Linked DNA regions of Homo sapiens: regions 2 and 3 are each linked to region 1. Evidence: promoter capture Hi-C in human tissues and cell types (Jung and others, 2019). All regions are on one chromosome and are shown on one strand. Each heading gives the region's core, a stretch centred on a gene start or on the middle of the fragment in contact. The rest is flanking DNA. Distances are from core to core; before and after follow the strand shown.

What was found. Contacts are between HindIII fragments. The study calls those that stand out against the background at their distance.
Region 2: a fragment that was not itself captured here is called in contact with the fragment with the promoter of NAGA in region 1 in 1 of the 25 tissues and cell types used here (lymphoblastoid cells).
Region 3: a fragment that was not itself captured here is called in contact with the fragment with the promoter of NAGA in region 1 in 1 of the 25 tissues and cell types used here (dorsolateral prefrontal cortex).

Annotation. Positions count from the first base shown.
Region 1 is chr22:42,068,884-42,072,460 of GRCh38, reverse strand. It overlaps NAGA (alpha-N-acetylgalactosaminidase), which reads left to right and starts at 1,649. Exons shown (of 9, transcript NM_000262.3): 1 at 1,649-2,179. The coding sequence starts at 2,164. RefSeq lists an enhancer at 1,339-1,388 and a silencer at 1,569-1,868. The HindIII fragment of the contact is 6,054 bases long and covers 1-3,132 here.
Region 2 is chr22:41,653,964-41,657,540 of GRCh38, reverse strand. It overlaps XRCC6 (X-ray repair cross complementing 6), which reads right to left. Exons shown (of 13, transcript NM_001469.5): 10 at 509-638. Among named protein-coding and RNA genes, the nearest start is that of SNU13, 33 kb to the left of the region's middle. The HindIII fragment of the contact is 3,766 bases long and covers 1-3,555 here.
Region 3 is chr22:42,332,343-42,335,919 of GRCh38, reverse strand. It overlaps a transcript of TCF20 not described here. Among named protein-coding and RNA genes, the nearest start is that of LINC01315, 35 kb to the left of the region's middle. The HindIII fragment of the contact is 4,393 bases long and covers 1-3,577 here.

The sequences.
Region 1 (3,577 bases), core at 400-2,899:
AATATTGGCTGGGCACAGTGGCTCATGCCTGTAATCCCAGCACTTTGGGAGGCTGAGGTGGGCGGATCACGAGGTCAAGAGATCAAGACCATCCTGGCCAACATGGTGAAACCCCATCTCTACTAAAAATACAAAAATTAGCTGGGCATGGTGGCGTGCGCCTGTAGTCCCAACTACTTGGGAGGCTGAGGCAGGAGAATCGCTTGAACCTGGGCGGCGGAGGTTGCAGTGAGCAGAGATCGCGCCACTGCACTCCAGCCTGGTGACAGAGGGAGACTCTGTCTCAAAAGAAAAAAAAAAAGAAAAAAAAGTAACTACAAATATTACTGGAAACATCCCCCACCTTTCTGTGTCGGGCCTGGCCATAAAGGAATTCTCTGATCTACCTTGCCTGATACTAGGTCATAAGACTCTCATTCCAGAAGGGGTCCTGCCCTCCTCCCAGCAGGAGGGAATGCCACACAGAGAGAACAAGAAGAATCCGAATCTGAACAGACATTGCTGGGTTTCCACACTCAGCTATTAACATTAAATCATTCCCTTTTGTCTAATCGCGTTTATACACAGTTGTCCATTCCTTATTCCTTTTTTTTTTTTTCTGTTGCCCGGGCTGGAGTACAGTGACACAATCACAGCTCACTGCAACCTCGACCTCCTGGACTCAAGCAATCCTCCCACCTCAGCCTCCCGAGTAGCTGGGACCACAGGCACCTGCCTGGCTTTTTAATTTTTTGTAGAGACAGGGTCTCACTATGTTGCCCAGACTGTCCTTAAATGTCTGGCCTCAAGCGATCCCCCTGCCTCAGCCTTCCAAAGTGCTGGGATTACAGGCATGAGCCACCAGACCCGGCCAGGGCTGTCCATTCTTCATCAAACCGAGACATAAAAATAAAGATTTCCCTGAGTATTTGTGTCTTCATTCCTGAAGGCTCTCAAGTCACATAAAACATTGAGTAAATCAATCTATTATGCTTTTCTCTTGCTAACCTATATTTTATTTGTAGGAGTGTCCGCTGTGACCTTTGGGATGAGTAAGGGAAAATATCACACCTTTCTGCCCCTACAATGCCCAGAACAAAGCATTTGGCACTTAGCAGTTTCTCAATAAATACTTGATGAATGAATGAAGAAGGAAGTAGCCCAGTCTGTGCGAGTAGTCCCTGAGCGTCAGGCGGGGAAGGAGAGCCGGCTGCCTTTGCGGGAGCTGTGACCGCCTGCTTTGGTGCCTCCCACGCACCCTCCTTGTAGAGACGATTAATCCCAGACTTCCATTTTCCTAGCAGCTCACTAGGCGGGCCTTGCTTCAGAGCAGTCTCTCATTTCCTCTGCACAAAGCCCTCAACCGTCCTCTGCACGGCCGCTTACTGAGCGCCCACGGTGAGCCTGGCACGATCCTTGCCCTCTTGGTCCCCACAGAGGTGGAAGGACAGGCCTCGCGGGGTCCGGGCCACGAAGGACAGCCCCGAGTCCGTTCTGCCAATGCCTGCCTCGCTAGCACGCAGGGCGGGAGCCCAGTGGGGAAGGGCTTAGGGAGGCTGGGAGGCCGGACCCATATGGGCGGGGCACAGCGTTGCTAGGGGGGATTCTGATAGGTTGCGCGAAGGGTTGCCTTCGTGAGGCCCCGCCCTCACTGGAACGCTTCGGACTTATCAGGTTACCGGATTCGAGTCAGAAGCGGCGGCAGGTCTGAACGCTTCGGTAGGATAAGTGCGGTGGGAGGGGGCTCTGCGGTTTTGGGGAGCCCAGGGCGGGAACCCGGACCCGGCTGGAAGTCCGGAGCCTGGCCGCAGCCCCGCCCCTCCGCTCTTTCTTGGTGACCTTAAGCCAGTGGCTGCCTTTTTCTGAGCCCGGGCGGGGCCGAAGGCGGCCCGTAGGCCCTCGGGACTCCCAGCACTGCAGAGGGTGTGAGGTCTGACATCCAAGACACGTTGTTTCGTATTTCTGAAGGAAGAACTGAAGCTCCGGGAAGTGATGGCTGGGGATGGGGCGGGCAACTTGGGGACCGAGTGTACGATCCACGCCTAAGGTTGAGGGCGGCCGAGCTAGCCAGGCAGCCGTGACCCCAGTGCTTTTCAGACGTTTCTTAGCTTCCAGAGCCCAACACATACAGCTGATACACGCAGACCAGATCTGGTCAGGTCCTCGGAAGCTGAGTCCAGAGCGATGCTGCTGAAGACAGGTACCTACACCGGCTGGGGTGGCTTGGAAGGGTAGGGGTGAGTGCTACAAGGAGTGCTTTGGCCCTTCTTCCCTAATGTGGGTATGTGGAGAGACAGGTTCCTCTCTCTTTTACTTAGAGCTGGGCAGGAAGGGAGGAGATGCTTCCCCATACGGGAATCATTTCTCCTTCAAAGGGGCCCTTCCTTTCTCACTTCCTCTCCCTCAAGCACAGAGGCCCTAACTGATGGATATCAGCATGTGCGGAGAACCGCCTGTACAGTCCCTACAGTAACTCCATATTACAGATAAGGAAACTGAGGCCCGAGGGGGAAAGGTCTCACTTAGGTGAGCTGATTGGGTGCCCATCCTGGCTGGCTTACTTCTTAAGCCTCTCTGAGGCCTCTTGAGGGTCTGTGGTAGAGAGCAAAGAGCTCTGGACTGGGGCTCAGGAGACCTGGAGTCTGGCCAATGGTCCCGACTTAACGATTTTTCAACTTTACTGTGGTGTGAAAGCGACGCACATTCAGTAGAAACCACAGTACGTATACAACCTGTGTTTCAGTATTCAGTAAATTGCATGAAATATTCAACAATTTATTATAAAATAGGCTTTGTGTTAGATGATTTTGGCCAGCTGTAGGCTAATGTGCGTTGTCGCACTTTTTTTTTTTTTTTTTTTTTGAGACGGAGTCTCACTCTGTCACCCAGGCTGGAGTGGAGTAGAGTGGCGCGATCTCGGCTCACTGCAACCTCCATCTCCCAGGTTCAAGCAAGTCTCCTGCTCAGCCTCCTAAGTAGCTGGGATTACAGGCACTCACCACCTCACCCCGGTATTTTTTTGTAGTTTTAGTAGAGACAGGGTTTCACCATATTGCCCAAGCTGGTCTTGAACCCCTGACTTACGGTGATCCGCCCACCTCGGCCTCCCAAAGTGCTGGAATTACAGGAGTGAGCCACCGTGCCTGGCCTGTCCACATTTTTAAGGTAGGCTAGGCTCAGCTATGATGTTTGCCAGGTTAGGTGTATTAAGTACATTTTTGACATAATATTTTCTTTTTTATTATTTTGGGATGGGGTCTCGCACTGTCACAGCCCAGGCTAGAGTTCAGTGGCACGATCTCAGCTCACTGCAGCCTCCGCCTCTGGGGTTCAAGTGATCCTCTTGCCTCAGCCTCCCGAGTACAGCGCATGCCACCACGCCTGGCTAAGTTTTTGAATTTTTAGTAGAGACAAGGTTTCACCATGTTGGCCTGACCTCAAGTGATCCACTCGCCTCGGCCTTCCAGAGCGTTGGGATTACAGGCATGAGCCACTGCATCTGGCTGATGTGATATTTTCAACTTACACTGGGCTTATGAGAACGTAGTTCCGTGGTAGGCCTAGGAGCATCTGTACTGTTAAGTTCTATATATGGGAT
Region 2 (3,577 bases), core at 423-2,922, 410 kb after region 1:
CAAAATAATAATAATAATAATAATAATAATAATAATAATAATAATAATAAATTTTTAAAAATGACATGTGAAAAAAATTACGTTTAGTGTCCCATTATGCAGGCTCTGAGAGTTGGTCTATTATATATGTGAGAGGGAATGACTTGAATTACTTAATCATTCTTTTAAGCCTTTAACAATTTACACTAGATTTATTTACTTTTGCTCATTGTGGAATAACAAACACAATCAAGGAGAAGGGCGAATAAGAATCCTGCTATTTTTTCAAATTTGTTCAACCAACTAATCTGGCTAAGTACAGCACAACAGAGAAACCACAAAATCCCAGAGTCTCCAACATAATAAAAGGTTCCATTCTCTATATGGCTTTCAAAAAACTATTAATAACAAGTAGTAATCTGTCAGTTTGCTGAAAAGAGTAGTGCCATTCTCTTGGCCTATGCCCAAGCTGTTTCTAATAAGATTTTCAACTCAGGAGGCAGTTCCAGAAAGCCTGAGATTGACTCACCTGTATGTGAAGCGAAGCTTCTCAACGATAGCCTTCATCTTGCCCACCTGCTCTGGAGTTGCCATGATTTTTTCAGTAAAGGGCATCTTCCTTTTATCATCAGCAAAGGGTAAAAAGACCAGCTGGAAGCCTGAAGAAAGGAGATAAATTTTCTTTGATTTGACTTCAAGTGTTGCAGTCACTTGTTTCTCAGCTCCAAATTCTTCCTTTTATGTCCTGTGGTGCTGGGGCTGGGGCCCCGTAGGCCCCATTTCTTGAACTCCACCAGCTGGTTTTTGTTATCATCTGCCTAACAGACTCCCTCTGCAGTTTCCAGAAGACTGCAAGGGAGGAGGGGTGCCCCTTCCTGTATACAGTAGATCCCTTATCCCTGGGGAATATGTTTGAAGAACCCGGGAGGATACCTGAAACCTCGGACAGCACCAAACCTGACTGCCGTCAATTGAAACATGTTTGTCCATGTCATACGTTCATAAATTTAATATTTAATGTTTTTTTCCATCTTTTTTTTTTTTTGAGATGGAGTTTCACTCTTGTCGCCCAGGCTGGAGTACAGTGGGCAATCTCGGCTCGCTGCAACCTCCGCCTCCCAGGTTCAAGCGGTTCTCCTGCCTCAGCCTCCTGAATAGCTGGGATTACAGGCGCCACCACGCCCGGCTAATTTTTGTACTTTCGGTAAAGATGGGGTTTCGCCATGTTGGCCAGGCTGGTCTCAAACTCCTGACCTCAGGGGATCTGCCCACCTCGGCTTCCCAAAGTGCTGGGATTACAGACGTGAGGTACCGCGCCCAGCCTTCATCTTTTTTTTTTTTTTTTTGAGACAGGATCTTGCTATCACCCAGGCTGGAATGCAGTGGTGTGATCACAGCTTACTGTAGCCTCTACCTCTCCGGCTCAAGTAGCCTATCAAGTAGCTGGGACTACAAGTGAATGCCACCACACTTGGCTACTTTTTTTTATTTTTTTGCAGAGACAGAGTTTCACCATGTTGCTCAGGCTGGTCTCAAAACTCCTGGGCTCAGGCGATCCACCTGCCACAGCCTCCCAAAGTGCTAAGATTACAGGCATTAGCCACAGTGCCTGGCCTCCTTTTCTATTTTAACTAAGCACTTCTCATGTACTGTGGCAGTAACTTTTACAGTTTGAGGTGCAACAGGAAAACTAGCTTGGGCCGGACATGGTGGCTCACGTCGGTAAGCACAGCACTTTGGGAGGCTGAAGCAGGAGGATCACTTGAGCTCAGGAGTTCGAGACCAGCCTGGGCAACATAGTGAGACCTTGTCTCAATTTATGTAAAAAAAGAAGGGGGGGAAAAAACTATTTTTTTTTTTTTTGAGACAGAGTCTCGCTCTGTCACCCAGGCTGGAGTGCAGTGGCGCAATCTCAGCTCACTAACTCCACCTCCCGGGTTCACACCATTCTCCTGCCTCAGCCTCCCAAGTAGCTGGGACTACAGGAGCCTGCCACCACACCTGGCTAATTTTGTATTTTTAGTAGAGACGGTTTCACCGTGTTAGCCAGGATGGTCTCAATCTCCTGACATCGTGATCCGCCACCTTGGCATCCCAAAGTGCTGGGATTACAGGCGTGAGCCACCACGCCTGGCCACTAAGATGAATTTCTTTTTCCTTCTTAACAATTTTGTGGATAGAAGATTCCTTCTTACCATGTATCTTAGCAACCTCAGCATAAAAAAAAAAAAAAACTAAAATGAATTTTTTCCCTTAACAATTTTGTGGTTCGAAGATTCCTTCTTACCATATATCTTAGCAACCTTAGCATATATTTTTTTCCTCCTTAAAGTCAAGAACTCTCACCTTTTCATTTAAAGGAAGCACTTTATGACTTTCTCTTTAGTATATCCAAACTGCCAGCACCACTACACTTGTGCTTTGGGGCCGTTATTAAATAAGGGTGACCTGAACACAAGCACCGCAATACTGATTACCTTGACAGTCAATCTGATAACCAAGACAGCTACTAAGTGACTAACTGGTGGGTAGCATTTACAGTGTGGAGATGCTGAACAAACAGATGATTCCTGCCCCAGGTGGGATTGTGCTTTTAAGTTATTTCTAGAATTTTCCACTTAAAATTTTTGGACCATGGTTGACTATGGGTAACTGAAACTGCAGAAAGCAAAACTGTGGTTGCGGCCCTCCTGTATTTACTGTTCCTACCTGTATTGCCCCAGCAAAGACCCTTTACCTGGCGGCAGTTGGTTCCAGTCTCCAGCTTTTTTGATACATCCAGAGCTAGCCGGACAGTGCCTCCTCCCTGGAGGGCTAAGTCCCAGCTCCATGGGGGCCTTCTCTGAGCTTCACCCTCGCCCCTTTTTTCCTTACCCTCTACCACGTGATAAATAAAAGGAAACAGGTAAGAGTTATCAGGCTGATTTTAGTTCAGTTACTGGCTGGTTCTGGAAGGACTAAAAAATCTACGCCCTGTAACTAACTGCTGCTACCAGGTGAAAGCCTTTGCTGACAATGCTGACCACACTGAGCAAACAGGAAGAAGCAAATCCCTCACCTCTCCTCTGCCCTTTGGTCTCCCTCTAGCACCCACTATAGACACAGCCTGAGAGCCAGCTGTGAAAGATGAAATTAGGTTTGGATCATTTCAGCCTCAGTAGTGCAGAGCATAAAAGGGTGAATTTGGAGCTGAGATACAATAGCTTAGTAACTGAGCACTCCTGAGCATGCTGAGGATCAAAGTTAAAACTACAGTAACTCATCTCAAATGTAAAACCACCCCGAGGGAAAGGTGCTCCAGAACGCCCATCTTTGTAGCTAAGGAATATTAAACAGAAAGGTTAAATTACTTGCCCACGTTGACCAGCTAACAAGCAGCAGAGATGGGCCCAAAACAAAAGCAAGCAAGCTTCCAGACACATAAGCACAAGATAAAGTCAAATCTGACTTTAAAATCCATGGTCTTTCCGCTATACCTCACTATCTTGGCAAACCCCATGGTTGGTTTGTATAGGAACTAAACCAAACATTAGACATTACAAGGGTGCCAAACAATGGCTTTGGAAAGAAAGGTGTCGGCAGTGAGGTCCCAAGAACT
Region 3 (3,577 bases), core at 779-3,278, 260 kb before region 1:
GCCCACCACAGGTGGCCTCGGGGGTAAAGTTGGGCTAGGGGCCAGGCTCGTTGCTGGTTTGGGCAGGGCTGGGGGCGTGATCTGAGTGCTGGGGCACCCCCACCCCAGAGCTGGCACCCTGAAGGGCTCCCTGTCACCCCCTTGCCACCCTACTGGCTCCCTAGTCTCACGTCCTGTGCTTCTGCCGCACTCAGAAGCTGCACTTAGAGGTCCCAGAGCCCAGTTCTTTCTTGCCCTCAGGTCTCTGCCCCTGCTATGCCTTCTGCCTGGGACACTTCCCCACTCTCTGCCCCCCTGCTGTCTGCTCAGAGTCAGGGGTAACAGATGCGTGCACTGTGTTCTCGCATTCTCTCTGCCAGTCAGTATTCATTCAGCAAATGCAGTCCCTTAATAAGGATATTGCAGCCCTACTATGCACCAGATGTGGTACTGATTGGGGGTGGGATGGGGAGAGCTACATTTGTGAATAAAGCAGACCAGGTTCTCACCCTCGAGGAGCTCACAGTGGAGTAGGAGTGACAGACAGCAAACAGGTGAAAACGTGGCTGGTGCCGGCCTGTGGGCAGGGCTGTGTGGAAAAGCTGAGTGGTGCCAGAGAGAGAGTGGGAGGTGCAGGGGGTGCTGATAGAGGCAGGGTGGCCAGGGAGCCTTTATCAGGGGCAGGAGAAGGTGCCAGCCATGGGAGGTGTGCGGGGAGAGCATCCCAAGTGGGACTCCTTGCTTTCTTGTCTGTTTCCCCACCCCTCTTGCCTGGTGGGGGCCAGCACAAAACTGGGATCTTTGCTGGGGCTGAGCTGATGTGGGCAGGGCCCCGGGAGCAGGAATGGTCTCGGATGTCTCTGTGGAGCCCAGGTCCCAGGAGCGTATGCAGAACGAAAGTCAGGCTGGGCTCCGGGCCCAGAGGGTGTACAGCTCTGGATACTGTAGGCAGCCAGGGCCTGAGACACGGGATGGGGTGTGGAGTCTTGGGTCCTGGTTCATCCTGAGGCCCTGCTAGATCCATCCATTGCTGAGGTCCAGAGCAAGGTTCCCTTCCGACAACTCACACAAAGGACTAAAAGTCCCATGGGACGGACAGACAGGACTGAGGAGCCCACGTGCTTGGGGCCAGATCCTTCCCCACTTAGACTAGGCTGTGAGACTACACTCAGGCAAGGCCCTGAATTTGAGCCTCAGCGTCCTCATCTGTAAAATGGGGATGACTATTCCACCCTTGTGAGGCTGCTTAGAGAATTAGATGTGATAGTCTCAGTGCAGCGCCTGGCTCATGACAGGCGCCAGTGTGTCTGCCACACTGTTGTTCTCGGCATGTGCCGAGTGTGTAAGGGCTGGAGCGGTTGTTGACTCGGAACCACCTCCCTGCAGCCTAGCCTGTTCCCTGCTCTGCCTCCAGCTCCTAGAACAGTGGCTGCAGCACACAGTTGCTGTTTGTTGACTGACTGAGTGAACTGGCTGCTTGAGTGAGCAGCCCCCAGGTGATGGGGAGGACAGGGCACAGGGGACTGAGTTGTGCCCAGGGGCTGACCATGGGCATCCAGCCATCTAGCTGCTTCTTGACTCCTCATTGGGGTACCCCTGGGACACCAAACCTCCTAGAGCCTCAGTGTACTCCTCTGTAAAATGGAGCCAATGATGATTCTGACCCCGGGCCCTGTCCCTAGGTTGTTGGCAGACTCATGAGAAAATGATATTAAAGGGCCGTGAGGACAGCTGAGCCTACAAATTGTTGGTGAGGTTGCCACCAGTCTGATTTCCCAAGGCCACCCAAGGTCCCAGGGAGGAGGGTGAGATGTTCAGGCTCTGGACAGGGAACCAGGCCTCTCCCTGCTTCCAGCTGCCCATGGTGTGAGGGGCACCTGGCCATGCAGCCCCTCTGACACCAAGGGTACCATTATGTTGAGTCACCTTTATCTGGTGGCTCATCTGGAACCTTGTGAGCCTGTTCCCACAGGAGTCTGCTAAACTCCAGCCCCAGGCAGGGGCCACCCGTTGGCCTGGGTTCCCACTGCGCTTGTGCCTATGGTCCTGTGTCCCAGTGGCACCTGGAGGAGCCATCGTGGTGGGCCGGTGCTCCTCCTAGAGGGAAGCCCTAGGCCAGGCCTGGCACATAGTGGGTGAGCAGGTTGGGCACCTGGAAGCTTGGGCTAGGCCTGCCTTCTATCGCCTTCCTCTGTGTGTGGCTGTGGGCAGTGAGTTACAGGCTTAGTACCTACTGCGTGGAGCAGTAGGCATACTGTGTGTTCTGGTCTCTGAATTGCTCTCCACTTTGTGGCGAGGGGCAAGCTGGCTCACAGGGGCCTGATATGAGGGTTTTTACACCTTTACCCCTTTGCCTCTGAGGCAGGTGGGGACCACTGGTTCCTTACCGAAACTGAGGCTCAAAGAGGGCCAAGGTGTGGTGGAAGCCAGATACTTTTCTGCTTCTGTGTGACTTGCGTTCATGGTGCAGTGGCTGTCAGCCAGGCTTGTGCACAGCCCTGGTGCACCGTCCTCTAAAGCCTCTGCACAGCGAGACAGCTCCTGCCACTGTCTACACACAGCCCTGGTGCACCATCCTCTAAAGCTTCTGCACAGCGAGGCAGCTCCTGCCACTGTCTACACACAGCCCTGGTGCACCATCCTCTAAAGCCTCTGCACAGTGAGGCACCTCCTGCCACTGTCTACACACAGCCCTGGTGCACCATCCCCTAAAGCCTCTGCACAGCGAGGCAGCTCCTGCCACTGCACACAGACTGGGTGCACCGTCCTCTAAAGCCTCTGCACAGTGGGGCAGCTCCTGCCATTGCATTTTGCCAATGCAAAAACAGAGATTAAGAGAGGCAGAGTGACGCAGCCAGGCTTTTGTTTTTACTTTTTCTTGGAGGTATAACTTAATACAGAAAAGTGCACACTTCTTAAGTGTACAGCTATAGGTAGCTGTGCAGCCTCCATCCAGATCCAGACCTAGAACATCCCCAGTGCCCCTGGAGGCTCCCCCGTGCTCCTCCCAGTCAACCCCCACCTGCTGCCAGCAGCTGCCCCCACTCCTGGCATCTGACAGTAGAGGCTGGCCTTGTCCATCTCTGCACTTTATAGAAACAGAGCCGCACAGCATGGTCCCTTTCCTGTAGCATCGTGTTTGCCCATGCAGTTGCTTTATCAGAAATTGGCTGTGCGGGGCACGGTGGCTCATGCCTGTAATCCCAGCACTTTGGGAGGCTGAGGCAGGCAGATCACTTGAGGTCAGGAGTTTGAGACCAGCCTGGCCAATATGGTGAAACCCCATCTCTACTAAAATTGCAAAAATTAGCAGGGAGGCTGAGGCAGGAGAATTGCTTGAGCCCGGGAGGCGGAGGTTGCAGTGAGCCGAGATGGTACCACTACACTCCAGCCTAGGCAACAACAGAGCGAGACTCCGCCTCAAAAAAAGAAAGAAAGAAAGAAATTGGCTGAACTGGTATTTGAACTCTCCCGCTCACTCTCCCCGTCGAACCCAGAGTGCTGCCCTTGCTTACATTGCCATCACCCTTGGAATGAGACCGAGATCCTCCCCCTGGCTGTTCCTGCTCCAGCTCCTGCACTGGTCACTACACTCCAG